Linked DNA regions of Homo sapiens: regions 1, 2, 3 and 5 are each linked to region 4. The links are contacts of gene promoters, found by promoter capture Hi-C in blood cells and fetal thymus (Javierre and others, 2016). All regions are on one chromosome and are shown on one strand. Each heading gives the region's core, a stretch centred on a gene start or on the middle of the fragment in contact. The rest is flanking DNA. Distances are from core to core; before and after follow the strand shown.

Region 1 (2,737 bases), core at 139-2,638, 340 kb after region 4:
TTCCACCTTGTCACATATTGGAAATGAATATATGGCCACCATTTCCCCCTGGGAACTTCTTCACAGCATTTAGCCTAACAAAACTTGAGCTGGGTTCCTGGACAGACTCTGACTGTGTAGCCACTCACCCTTAACTTTGGCTGAGGGTGGGAAGGAAAATGAAGGAACAGGGGCATCTTTCCCTCTGACTATAGGAAGCTTGATTTTGTGTTCCTATCTACTTCCTTCTTCTGTTATTACCCTCTTCCCAATCTATCATTGCAATCATTTTAATGCCACTAAAAAAATAGCTTCTTTTTTTCTGCCTGCAGATTGCATAAACAATATCTTGGTCTGCTCTCTACCTGTAATTCATTGAGTAACCCAAGGCAGGCTCTAATTTTTTTTTTCTGTTAGCATGTATTACTTGAGAACATTGCTATCCTTTGAGCTCATAAAAGAACAAGGTTGAGGTTCTTTAATAAGAGGGAATAAGGAGGCATGAGAAACATATACTTATGGGTGCAAGTCAATTGGTAGACACTGGCTCTTTCAAGTCACAATGATGTCATTTGCTGCCCGAAATTAGTGGTTGCCAAATCATCAGTGCTTATTAAAAACAAAGATTCTTGGGTACCTTCTCTGGAGACGTGGATTCAATGCATCTGGGGTGCATCCAGGGAACCTATATTAACAAGAACTTCAGGAAGTTCTTAGGTTCAGCAGGTTTCGAAAACCCAGTCTTCAGGCATACATTGCTGAATAGTACCCACAAGATCTGAGAGTAAACATCATTGTGTTTTGTATAAAATTTTTCTTGTAAAAATTTATTGAACCAGCATTAAAGAAAAAATTAAAAAACATAAACTACCTCTATTTTTGCTGTTCTAATACAGTAGTTTCACTTCTCTGCAATTCCTTGTATACTATACTCTCATTTTACATATTTTTAACATAAATATTTACAAATTTATTTATTTATTTATTTTTTAAGACAAAGTCTCACTCTGTCACCCAGGCTGGAGTGCAGTGGCACAATCTCGGCTCACTGTTACCTCTGCTTCCTGAGTTCAAGCAATTCTCGGCCTTAATCTCCTGAGTAGTTGGGGATACTGGTGCATGGTACCATTTTTGTATTTTTTGTAGAGACAGGGTTTCACCATGTTGGCCAGGCTGGTCATGAACTCCAGACCTCAAGTGATCCACCTGCCTCGGCCTCCCAAAATGCTGGGAATACAGACCTGAGCCCCTGGGCCCGGCCAAAAATCTATAAATTTAAACTTTGCACTTCGGGAGACTGAGGTGGGAGAATTGCTTGAGCCCAGGAGTTCAAGACCAGCCTGAGCAACATAGCAAGACCTTGTCTCTACTAAAAAAAAAAATAAAAAAATAACTAGGCATTGTGGCGAGCACCTGTGGTCCCAGTTATTTAGGAGGCTGAGGCAAGAGGATCAGTTGAGTCCAGGAGGTTGAGGCTGCAGTGAGCCATGATTGTGCCTGTGCACTTCAGCCTGGGTGACGCAGCAAGACCCTGTCTAAAAAAAAAAAAAAAAGTAAACAAATACATTTTGGTGGGTTTTTAAAAAATATATAACATATTAGAAATATTTTTTTCCTTGATGTTGTATAAGGTTGGTGACTTAGTTCATTCAAACTGCTGTAATAAAAATACCATGAACTAGGTGGCTTATAAACAATTTAAATTTCTTTCTTACAGTTCTAGAGGCTGCAAAGTCCAAGATCAAAGTGCCACCAGATTTCATGTCTAGTGAGGGCTCATTCTATTTCATAGATGATGCCTTCTTGCTGTGTCCTCACCTGATGGGAAGGATGAATAAGTTTCCTTGGACCTCTTTTATAAGGGCACTCATCTCATTCCTAAGGGCTCCACCCTTATAACCTAATCACCTCCCCAAACCCCCACCTCTTAATACTATCACATTAGGGAATAGGTTTCAACATATGAATTTTGGGGGAGCATAGACATTCAGACCACAGCAATTGGTAATTATAATGTTAAATGTCTAGGCTGGGCAGGGTGGCTCATGTCTGTAATCTCAGCACTTTGGGAGGCCGAGGCAGGCAGATCATTTGAAGTCAGGAGTATGAGACCAGCCTGGCCAACATGGAGAAACCCCGTCTCTACTAAAAATACAAAAATTAGCTGGGTGTGGTGGCATGTGCCTGTAATCCCAGCTACTCGGGAGGCTGAGGGAGGAGAATTGCTTGAACCTGGGAGGCAGAGGTTGCAGTGAGCCGAGATGGCACCACTGCACTCCAGCTTGGGTGACAGAGTGAGACTCCATCTCAAAAAAAAAAAAAATGTCTACAGTTAACCCATCCATTTACCAAATATTGGACACTTTGGTTGTTTCTAATTTTTTACTTACATTACAGATTAAAATTAAAAATTAAAACTATTTTAGAATAATTTCTCAGGAGTGATATTGTGTTAGGCTGTTCTTGCATTGCTATAAAGAAACAACTGAGGTTGGGTAATTTATAAAGAAAAGAGGAGAGATTTAACTGGCTTACAGTTCTGCAGGCTGTACAAGCATGGCTCTAGCATCTGTTTCTAGTGAAGCCTTAGGAAGCTTACAATCACAGTGGAAGGTGAAGTGGGAGCAGCCTCGTCACATGGCAAGAGTGAGAGGCAGCAAGGGGGGCAGGATGTGTCACATACTTTTAAACAGCCAGATCTTGTGAGAACTCACTCACTGTCACGAGGACAGGACCAAGACATTCATGAGGGATCTGC
Region 2 (2,752 bases), core at 29-2,528, 480 kb before region 4:
TTTCTGTGCCTATCAGAAAGTGGCATTACTTACCCCAAGGTCAGGATCCTGCAAAGGAAAAATATAGACAAGGTACCAGGCCATTTTTTCCAAGTCTTGGTTTTATAAAGTCAACATTAATCCCTCAAAGCAGTCTGCTCAAACTTGAAAATATGACATTCCATTCAAAGCTTTAGTAAAATAACCAGTGTTTCCAATGTGTCCTGTTACAAAAGGAAAAGAGATTCTTATTGAACTTATACAAATAGCCACATTGCAATAAAATGAGAATACAATTTTCAAATTCTAGAGAAATCAGGTAGAGAGAAAGGTAAATGTTTCAATTTTTCTCACAAAAGTATACTTTACTCAATTGCTGTAAACTATAAATAGCTTAAAAAATGTATTGACTCTAGAAAGCAAAATATAAAAACAATCAGCAGTATTTCAAACAAAATGAAGTCATAACAAATTATTTCAGTCTTCTGTCATTCAGTCCTATGTAATTAACTTTTGCTGTGTTTGAAATTGGGTTAGCAATGTTTATAAACCCATCAGTTTTTTATTAGAGTTCTGAATGTTTTTACCTCATCCAATGGTATAATCTCCAAAGTTATCAGAAACCTGTATTCAAGAGTACTTGTCATAGTCCTTTCCATTAATTTCCTTGAAGACACAATGCTTTAGCATTTGCAAAAAGGTTTGAGGATAAAAAGTGATTTACTGCATATATCAAGACATATCAGATTTTTATAAAACCTCATACAATTTTGGAGAGCATACATTAATAACATCCACACAAAGATAATTCAAAGAAAGTCAAACACCATTTCTTATTGGATAATACTTCCCATATGATTTTAACATCCCTTTAACATCCCAATAAGCCTAATATGTCCCTCTTGGATTTTCAAGAGCCCTCCATTTTTTTGAATGTCCAAGAGTTACTTTGAGGTCAAAAAGACTCAATTTTAGAATTTGAATTTTGTTTTTGGGAGGTATGTCAAATATCAAAGGTTGAAGACACTTGATATTAAAATAAATCACAGGTCACTCTAAAATAATAGTCATCTATTTAGCTAAAGTGATAATTCAAAGATTTCAGAAAGCAAAAACTTTTACTCAATAGAGCAGCAACTCAGTTTTCCAATCAAAAGACCTAATAAAGGCAGCATCAGATTATCTCTCCCATTCTCCTCTCCTTTTAAAAATTTTGCAATTTACTGAAAAGGTGAACAAAAATATTTTACTATATCTTATTAATACTATATGAAAATATTGTTCAGAAGAAAAAAACAAATGTAACCCTTGTATCAATGTATTATTATTAAATCTAATTTTAATAAAACCTTATATACAGATCCATCGAATCTTGATCAGCTTTGATCACACAGCATAAGATTTTCATAAGCCTTTTATAACCTATTACAATTTTTCCCATTTTCTTTTTCCCCAGTTTTTTATATATGTTTAGTTTATCTTTTTTAATTTAAATAACTTTTACATCACCTTTAAGCCAGGCAAACTTACTTATCTGTTAAACATTTTAACATCTTTTTAGAAAACTTTCTTTACCAAAACACATCCTATTTTTCTTTTACACTTTATATACAGAATAGTTTCTCTTACATCTAGTAGTTTTAATCACATATATTAATTACAATGTTAACTCTTAGTAACCCTAATTCTTACTGAAAAACCTAGGAAGTAAGCAATTTTAATTGTTATGTACCAGGTGTAGAACCCAGGACAGAGAAGGCTGTGAAGACAAGTCCTGGAGGATCTGATTCCTCCCAGCATGGCTAGAAGGCACAGCCGAGTCAGGGAGGACATCCTGGGCTTGGCTCTGTACCAAAGCTGGGGTGGCCTAAGTCACCAGACCTCACTATGGGCACTTGTCTAGACCTTACAATCTGAAGGCTCAAAACTAAACACATAAGATCATAGATAAACCAAACAGCTATCAAAAATGTCACAGAAAACAACAGTTTTATGACCTGAAAACTTCTATCAGAGACAGTCTAAACCTTTCTGACCAGTAGTCCCAGGCAAAATGTCTGAATTGTATTTAATACTGACTGTTCTGAAGACATTCAAGTTTTATTTTATCAGCAATTTTAAAACTAGCTTTATTTATCAAAGATTACTAAAGTCATGTGAACTTGAAAAGTTTTTGCACATATTTACTTAATTTATGAGTACTCATTTATTTACAAGTCAATTTGGTACCAGGTAGGCAATATACAAACACAGACATGCATATATGTATAGTAAAAATACAAAATAAATATTTTATAGTATAGATTTTATAATTTCTGCCATAAGACAAGTAAAACTCACTCATTTAAAAGAACACTTGGATTAAATTGTACCTCTGTAAATGGAACAAGTTATGTCCAAAGCTTTTACTGAATTTTAGAGAAAATAGGATAGCAAATTTACATTTCATAGAGGGAGAATTCAAGATTTCCAAAAGGTCAAGGAAGTTTTACATTATCATTGGCAAAAATTATGTCATCAAAAGAGAAGCAGAACAAAGGAGTGCCTATAATTAAAGGTTTAAGAAGAAATGAATTCAGTTGACTGATAAGCTTCTATGGAGACAACAGAGGTCTACACACACACACACACACACACACACATATCTGCTAAATGCCAGCTTTTAATTAAGTCAACTTTTTTTTGAGTCAGGGTCTTATTCTGTCACCCAGGCTGGAGTGCAGTGTTGTGGTCATGGCTCAGCCCCAACTTCCCAGGCTCAAGCAATCCTCTT
Region 3 (2,700 bases), core at 52-2,551, 360 kb after region 4:
TCACTATGGAATGTAAGACGTTTGATCTTATTGGAGACAATGCAAAGTGTCAGTTTTTGCTTCTACATTATCCCCACCCTTACCTCGGCTCTTTACAGATCAGAAACCAAGGCAGAGGTAGGTAAAGTAACTTGCTTCAGGTCATAGGGCTGGCAAATGGCTGAGCCAAGATTTGAATACAGGAAGCCGGGTTCCATTGAGTAATGATGCCTCTCTATCCTCTAATGATACCTCCCTTCTCAGAAAGTTAGTGGCTCAGCCTTGGCAACATAGGGAGATCCCTTCTCTACAAAACAAAAACACAAACAAACAAACAAACAAAAAATGCCAAGCATGTTGGTGTGCACCTGTAGTCCCAGCTACTCAGGAGGCTGAGGCAGAAGTATTGCTTGAGCATGGGAGGTTGAGGCTGCAGTGAGCCACGATAGTGGCACTGCATTTCAGCCTAGGTGTCAGAATGAGATCCTGTCTCAAAAAAAAAGAAAAAAGAAAAAAGAAAAGTGGGAGGCTGAGGTGGGTGGATCACCTGAGGTCAGGAGTTCAAGACCTGCCTAGCCAACATGGTGAAACCCCGTCTCTACTAAAAATACAAAAATTAGCCAGGCATGGTGGTGGGTGCCTGTAATTCCAACTACTCAGGAGGCTGAGGCAGGAGAATCGCTTGAACTCAGGAGGCAGAGTTTGCAGTGAGCCAAGATCATGCCATTGCCCTCCAGCCTGGGCAACAAGAGCCAGACTCCATCTCAGAAAAAAAGAAAAAAAAAAAAAAAAAAAAGAAAGAAAAAGAAAAGAATGAACCAGTTGATGGCTACTTAATGCCTGCCCCATTCATTGATCATTTAAGAATGCACAGACCTATGTTCTTATTTCGTTTTTTGTATGTGATTATCTTATTTCCCCTCTGGCCTGAAGGCTGCTTAACAGCTGGCACTTGGTTATGCTGGAATTTAGGAGGGCACTACACAACTGTTGCTCTGTAAATATTCATGGACTGGATGAACGATCTTCAGGTCCATTTCCACCTGTACAAGTTGGTGGAGACCGCTTACTCTCCACCAAACCTTACTTATACTAATGGTTAGTGAAAATATGTGCAGCATTAGTTTTGAACAAAACCAAAATGTTGAAAATTGAAACTGAGATTTCTATTAGAATCTAGAAGGACCTGCTATAGGCTTAGGAATGCCAAAATCGATTTCTCTTCCCATTTACATTTAAAAGCTTCCTAGGCTTTCTGAAATGTCATTGAAGTTTGAAATTTGAGGTGGCAGCAAAGGGCTGCCGCCATCTAAGTTCATGGTTCCTAGCCTGTCCCCTTAGCAGTGACCAAGGAAAAATGGTTTAATCCTCTACACTTTTATATCCTGTAAAGCAAGCTTAAAAATCCACCAGTGTAATAATCTCCCCAAGGAGTCAAGGTGACAAATGTCGGAAATACGCTTTTCAAGTGAGAGATTCACAATAATAAAGCTCTGCCAAAAAGCCATCAATACACTTAACAGGCTAGAAAGGGCTCACCCTTTTTTTTCTAGTGAAAAATAATGTCTTCTTGACATATCTATAGTTTGCCATTAGTGGGTTATTTTATGGCCACATTCTAAACTCTTGCAGTAAACAGCTCCTATCACAAAGCTTCACATGTCATTATACCAAAAAGGCATCTTTGACAGTATCACCTTCATCTCTGTAGCTTATAAAAATAATAATCTGACTTCCTCTAAGTATATTGCGCATAATATTCTTTCCTCTGCAAAATATTGGCTTCAAAATGCATATTTTGCATGTCATTTTTTCTCTTTTTTTTTGAAACAGAGTCTCGCTCTGTTGCCCAGGCTAGAGTGCAGTGCTACGATCTCAGCTCACTGCAACCTCTGCCTCCCAGGTACAAGAGATTCTCCTGCCTTAGCCTTCCAAGTTGCTGGGATTATAGGCATGTGCCAGCATGCCCAGCTAATTTTTGTATTTTTAGTAGAGATGGGGTTTCACCATGTTGGCCAGGCTGGTTTTGAACTCCTGACTTCAGGTGATCCTCCTGCCTTGACCTCTTAAAGTGCTGGGATTACAGGCATGAGCCACTGCGCCCAGCCAAATGGCATTGTTTCGATGCAGAGAATTTCTTAATGTTATTTTGGCATACCAGAGTATTGTACTACTTTCCTACTTAGATAATCTTTTTCTCCAGTCAGTAGAAATCTCTTTTAATGAGGGCAAAGAAAACCACATAGATTGTTCAATTTCTCTCCGAAGATATTATAGTAGCATGTTACCTTAAATCTTTTTTAGACTAAGACAGGTTCTAAATGCACACTCAAACAAATAAGTAAGCAAACTAATTACATGAAAGAATGAACTCCTCAAGGAACCCATAGAAACACGCCATCATTCTATTTCTGAGTAACCCTAGAGCTACGGTATTATAAGCCAATGAAAGATTGCTTAGGCAGTTATGAAGTTATGTTTCTCCATTTACTATTGATTTTGGGCTTTTATTTTTCTCTTTCTTTTCAGAAACCATTTCTTTTTCCCTTAACATGATCAGGAATTCCCCCAAATGTTCTTGGAATTAGAGTTTCTCAGGTTGAGTTTTGGCTGTCCCTGGTCCCAGCTTGAGGTTATGCTGTGCTAAATTTTATCACTAGCCATTTGAGTATGGCTTAAACTTCTTGGAGAAAAGGTGATATGCTAGAAACTACAGGCACA
Region 4 (2,700 bases), core at 49-2,548:
CTTACTTCTTCCTGTCTGAGGATCCATAAACCTCAGGATTCTTTACTAATTTCTCATCAGCATCATTTTTTATTGTATTTCCAAATTTAAAAACAACTGTCTCCAAAGGCCTCAAAATTACTTTCAGTTATTACTATAATAAATATCAGCGATGTATGATGTATTAATTAGAAACTAAGGTGTTTTTTTTCCCCTCCCCACAGGAAAACTACTTCAGAGAAAGACTTTAAATTTCTGAGAAAATCTTTATACATATTGAGTATAGATGCTATCAACCACATACATGAAAATAATTGTTTGGGGATAATGCACACCATTTGCCAATGATTAAGATTCAGCCCAGTCTTTGTTGCTGCATTTCTACATTCACATAAATTGGTAAGTCATGATGACACAGAAGGCTCACATGCCACGTAAAAATTTCAAGCCTGGATCTGAATGGGTGCCTGAATCCTTCTCAGAATGCATATTTTGGAGGCAACTGTTTGGTTTATGTTACTGCTCCCTAAACTGGGCAGTGACTCAAGAGGCAGCTGGAAGAGAGAAGGAGGTGCTGGGCAAGTGCTAAAAAAGAGTGAAGCCTCAACAGCAGAGTCCCTCCCCTTCTCTACACACCACACAGCCTTTTTGTGACTTCTTGTCCCCATAAGATATGCTCCTCTAGACTAACTCCCCTTCCCAGGGTGGAGCAGAGTCTCACCGGCTCATTATCTCACAGCTCCCGGGATGGCCCCGGGTACAGCAACTGTGTGGCACTTGGCTGTGGAAATTCAAGTTTTTCCACCCTAAAACAAGTAGGTTGTGAAACCCGATTTCGGTCCTGGTTACCATTGAGAGGGGCCTACCACAGCCCTGTGCCTGGAAGTTCCTGCCTGTCGAAGCTCCTAGCCCCCTGCCCCATCCTCACCTTCTGCACCTGATGGAGAAGGTGCAGTCCCTCCGCGCACCTTACATGCCCATGCCACACTGGTGGACTCACGCACGCACGCCAACTCTGCCATCCCATGCACGCCCGGCTTCGGAGGGCGGCTACGAACTTACTGCTCGTCGAGCCAGCCGAGCCAGGGCGCAAGGGGAAAGGCCCGAGCGGGGCCGGGGATAGGATCGGATAGGAGTCGGGGTCGTGGATGGGGTCGGGGCGGACCCCGCCGGCCCGCTGGCCTCCCTCCCCTGACCCCCGGGACAGCCCCCGATGCACGTGCTGGGTGACAGGCCCCCTATAGGTTCCATACCTGCCACCGGAAGTGAGTGAGGAGGGCAGTATAGGCATTTCCTGTGACGCGAGCGCCTGGACTCCATTAGGCAGCAGCTGGGGGAAGAATCAACACACCAGGGAGCAGAGCGGAGCGGATCCGAGGACAGAGGCGGCAGCTGCCTCCGCTGCCGCCCGCCGCCGCCGCCGCCGCAGCCACTGCCGGGGCTCAGCCCAGCGGCGGGCCCCGCGCCCCCGCAGCCGCCCCGCGGCGCCCCCCGGCGCGACCCCCGGGCCGCGCACCCCGAGCTGCCTCCGGGAGGGGGGGGGGAAAGGGCCCGGATCCTCCTTCTCCCCCTCCTCCTCCTCCCCCTCCTCTCACCCTCACCCTCACCCTCCTACCCTGACCCCCTCCCCGCCTCCCCGGCCCCCCTCACCCCGACCCTCTCCCCGGCCCCCGCCTCCCCTCCCCCGCCTCGCCCCACCGGCTTCCCACCACGGCCTCTCTCGGCGAGGAAACTCTGGCCTCCGCTTCCTCCTCCTCCGACTCGGACACCGGCGGAGCCTCCCCGCCCCCGCGGAAGAAACCCCGAGCCTCGGCGGCGGAGGGAGTAGGAGAGCCCGGGGCTTCGGCAGGCAGAGCAGGCCTCTCCCCTCCGTCCTCGTCGTCCTCGTCCTCCTCCTCCTCCTCCTCCTCCGTGGTGGTAGTGGTGGGACTTCCCCCGGCTGCTGCCCCTCCCGCCGCCGCTGCTGTCCCCCACCGAAGTAGCGGCCACAGCCTGGTCAGCGGCAGCATCATGCAGGCCAATGGGGCAGGAGGAGGAGGAGGAGGTGGCGGCGGCGGCGGTGGAGGAGGAGGGGGCGGCGGGGGCCAGGGACAGACCCCGGAACTCGCCTGCTTGTCGGCCCAGAACGGGGAGTCGTCCCCCTCGTCGTCGTCGTCCGCGGGGGACCTGGCCCACGCCAATGGGCTCCTGCCTTCCGCCCCCTCCGCCGCCAGCAACAATAGCAACAGCCTGAATGTCAATAACGGGGTTCCCGGCGGGGCGGCCGCCGCATCCTCAGCCACCGTCGCAGCTGCCTCCGCCACCACCGCCGCCTCCTCTTCCTTGGCCACCCCAGAACTGGGCAGCAGCCTCAAGAAGAAGAAGCGGCTCTCCCAGTCAGATGAGGATGTCATTAGGCTAATAGGACAGCACTTGAATGGCTTAGGGCTCAAGTAAGTATCCCTTACCGCCAGCTGGTGATGGACAGACCGAGGGACGGAGGCTCCAGGGGGGTAGGGGAAGGGGCGGAGGGGGGAGGGGGGCTTGAAAGAGCTCGGTCAAAGAGAATGAGTGCTGGGCACGCAGGACCCAGTACACAGGAGGACGCGGCTCAGGGCGACCGGGGAGGAGGAGCGGACCTGAAAGGAAATAGGGGAAAATCAATCAGTCTGACAAATTGTGAGACGAGACAGGCGTTGAGGGGTTAGGAAGGGTTAGGAGAAACCCAAAGAATGACTTCTC
Region 5 (2,700 bases), core at 83-2,582, 270 kb after region 4:
TTTTGGAACTGGACGTAGTCTTGAAAAGAGAACTAGTACCCCACCCTCGCAGGGTGAAAGAATTGGTAGTTGCTACTTTTCTACTGACCAGCAGCATATATTATACAGGAAGGTGACTTTTTTGAAACAGTCTTTCTCTGTTGCCCAGGCTGGAGTGCAGTGGCGTGACCTCGGCTCGCTGTAAGCTCCACTTCCCCAGCTCAAGCGAATCTCATGCCTCAGCCTCCCTAGTAGCTGAGACTACAGGTGTGCGACACCATGCCTGGCTAATTTTTGTATTTTTAATAGAGAGGGGTTTTGCCACATTGGCCAGGCTGGTCTCAAACTCCTGGCCTCAAATGACCCACCCGCCTTGGCCTCCCAAAATGCTGCAGTAACAGGTGTGAGCTACCGCACCCGGCCAGAAGGTGACTTTAGACATGTCAGTAGCCTTAGCGCACATCTACTGCCAGGACTTCTCTGATTTTAAGATTACAGGTTCTGGAAGCCTTTTAAACATTCTCTTTTACTTGTACACCTAGGGTGAACCCCTTGTGTGCAAATAACCTTAAAAGTTGCCTCCTCCAAGCCCAGCTTTTTTTTTTTTTTTTTTGAGACGGAGTCTCACTCTGTCACCCAGGCTAGAGTGCAGTGGCACAATCTTGGCTCACTGCAACCTCTGCCTCCCAGGTTCAAGCAATTCTCCTGCCTCACCCTCCCGAGTAGCTGGGATTAGAGGCACCTGCCATCACGCCCGGCGAATTTTTGTATTTTTAGTAGAGATGAGGTTTCACCATGTTGGTCAGGCTGGTCTCGAACTCCTGACCTTGTGATCTGCCCCGCCTCGGCCTCCCAAAGTGCTAGGATTACAGGTGTGAGCCACCGTGCCCGGCCTAGCCCAGCCTTTTCTTGATCTCAGTTCTATATACTACTGTTAGCATTAGTGATTTGGGCATTGACTGCTTCTAGTGGATGTGTGGGATGGTCTTGCTTATATTAAGTTCAGAGTCTCATTGTTCTCAGGTTTCTAGGATGCAGTGTAGTGTAGTAGCAAGTTTATAAACTTCAGAGCTCATGGGTCAAATCCCACTTACGCCACTTACTTGCATAACACTGTGGACATGTTGCTTAGCCTGAGTTCAACTTCCCCACGTAGAGTAAAACCTACTTTATAAGGTAGCTGTGAGGACCACTGTAACATCTGTAAAACACATAGTACAGTGCTCCAAAAGACAGTAGCTATCAATATGGTATGTTAGCAATAGAGCTCCATATTCTTTTGTGCATGAAATACAAAGAAAACAAGTAGCACTGGTAACAACACATTTATTTACGTACCCTGTTGTGTGACCGGGAGGTGTTTTTCACTTTCCAATAATTGATTCGGTTATAACAATTAAAATTCCAGAAGGTAAACTAGTAATTTATTGTTGCTCATAAGCATAGGTAAACAGACATGGTACCACAATAAAGGAATCTTAAACACTTCTAACCTTTTGGAATAGGTTTGAATATGGACCAATATACTTTGCCAATGGACCTAATAGATTACCAATATACTTCTAAATGTCATGGTTCTCTTCAGACACAACAGAAGAAATCTGGATCTAATTTTTAAACTTCAGAAATTTAACCAAGATGCTTAGGAAGATGCAAAAGGACAGCAGTACTTAAGCCTGTCATATTTATCACCAATATAACTGTATTGCTATTAAAAGTAAAATCATGGTAGGGAGCAGCCAACTAATTGCTAGTCTCAGTTCATAGATTTAGTATTTTTTGAAAATAATTCACCTCAGATGGCAGGCTATACAAGTTTAAAGTAGTTTTAACTTAACCTTTTGTGTACTAGTGAAAGCAATTCAGATAGATCCCAAGTCAAAGAACCAAACAGTGTATCAAGTTGGGTTTCATATCAGAAATCAGCCATTTCCAAACAACTGCATCGTATAGGACGTTTTCTTTCAGACTGCCTTTTATTCCTGGCTTCAAATCTTACTCACAGTATATGTTTTTAGAGAGTTTGGTAAGTGTAACAAATGGGTACTCATTGCTAGAGCAGGATATAAGAATGTGCTGATCACCAAGTATGAGATTTACATTACATTAAATTAAAATTATATAATGTTGGAAATAGACAATATAGGGAGTTCCCGGATCCTAGAAAATATTATGGCTAAGGAAACAGAGAACTCAAGAAATGAATCTACCTCCAAGAAACTAATTCAGTATAGTAAAATAGAATTAAGTGCCCTGTCTCAGGAAAAAGTTTATTAAGAATAAGGAACAAGTGGGACATCATACATCGTTTCTTTGGAGATTAAAGTGCAGGCTATGAAATGGCATATAAAATAATGCATAAAATAGTGCAATCTTAAGGTGCCATTATTTTTATTACACATAGCCTAGTTTTATGTCCATTTTCTCTCAAAAATCCAGCTGTAGTGACACCTTTTAGCTTATTAATTTAGGCATTACTTATACTGTTTTACCCACCTTTGGGGCTACATAGAATATTTTAACATTTTTAACACGTAGAATAATTGCGCATATATCTTGAAACTACTAAATAGAGATTAAGGCAAGCCCCTGTAAAGTTCAGTACTCCAAAAAAAGTGTTTTGCAAAAAAATTGCTTCCCAAATCAGTGGCTTTTGACCTGATGGTACCCCAATAGTCTTTAAAACTATTTTAAAGTATAATGACTCTCAATACATTTGCG

What was found. The method cuts DNA at HindIII sites, captures the fragments that hold promoters and counts their contacts. A CHiCAGO score of 5 or more calls a contact.
Region 1: a contact is called between a fragment that was not itself captured here and the fragment with the promoter of WDR26 in region 4, in 7 of 17 cell types (naive B cells, naive CD8 T cells, non-activated CD4 T cells and 4 more). The highest score is 7.2, in naive B cells.
Region 2: a fragment that was not itself captured here is called in contact with the fragment with the promoter of WDR26 in region 4 in 2 of 17 cell types (M2 macrophages and M1 macrophages); the score reaches 5.6 in M2 macrophages.
Region 3: a fragment that was not itself captured here is called in contact with the fragment with the promoter of WDR26 in region 4 in 3 of 17 cell types (naive B cells, naive CD8 T cells and total B cells); the score reaches 8.3 in naive B cells.
Region 5: a fragment that was not itself captured here is called in contact with the fragment with the promoter of WDR26 in region 4 in 4 of 17 cell types (naive CD8 T cells, total CD8 T cells, total CD4 T cells and 1 more); the score reaches 6.3 in naive CD8 T cells.

What each region holds. Positions count from the first base shown.
Region 1 is chr1:224,092,740-224,095,476 of GRCh38, reverse strand. No RefSeq gene overlaps it. Among named protein-coding and RNA genes, the nearest start is that of FBXO28, 20 kb to the left of the region's middle. The HindIII fragment of the contact is 2,375 bases long and covers 201-2,575 here.
Region 2 is chr1:224,913,696-224,916,447 of GRCh38, reverse strand. The region is part of intron 1 of LOC105373109 (a long non-coding RNA gene); the gene reads left to right. Among named protein-coding and RNA genes, the nearest start is that of DNAH14, 15 kb to the left of the region's middle. The HindIII fragment of the contact is 2,211 bases long and covers 173-2,383 here.
Region 3 is chr1:224,076,301-224,079,000 of GRCh38, reverse strand. No RefSeq gene overlaps it. Among named protein-coding and RNA genes, the nearest start is that of FBXO28, 36 kb to the left of the region's middle. The HindIII fragment of the contact is 155 bases long and covers 1,224-1,378 here.
Region 4 is chr1:224,433,395-224,436,094 of GRCh38, reverse strand. It overlaps WDR26 (WD repeat domain 26), which reads left to right and starts at 1,298. Exons shown (of 14, transcript NM_001379403.1): 1 at 1,298-2,411. The coding sequence starts at 1,690. It also overlaps a transcript of CNIH3 not described here. RefSeq lists an enhancer at 390-579 and a silencer at 920-1,319. The HindIII fragment of the contact is 13,558 bases long and covers 1-2,700 here.
Region 5 is chr1:224,160,636-224,163,335 of GRCh38, reverse strand. It overlaps FBXO28 (F-box protein 28), which reads right to left. Exons shown (of 5, transcript NM_015176.4): 5 at 1,289-2,700. Among named protein-coding and RNA genes, the nearest start is that of DEGS1, 21 kb to the left of the region's middle. RefSeq lists enhancers at 424-924, 2,695-2,700 and a silencer at 2,695-2,700. The HindIII fragment of the contact is 5,297 bases long and covers 1-2,700 here.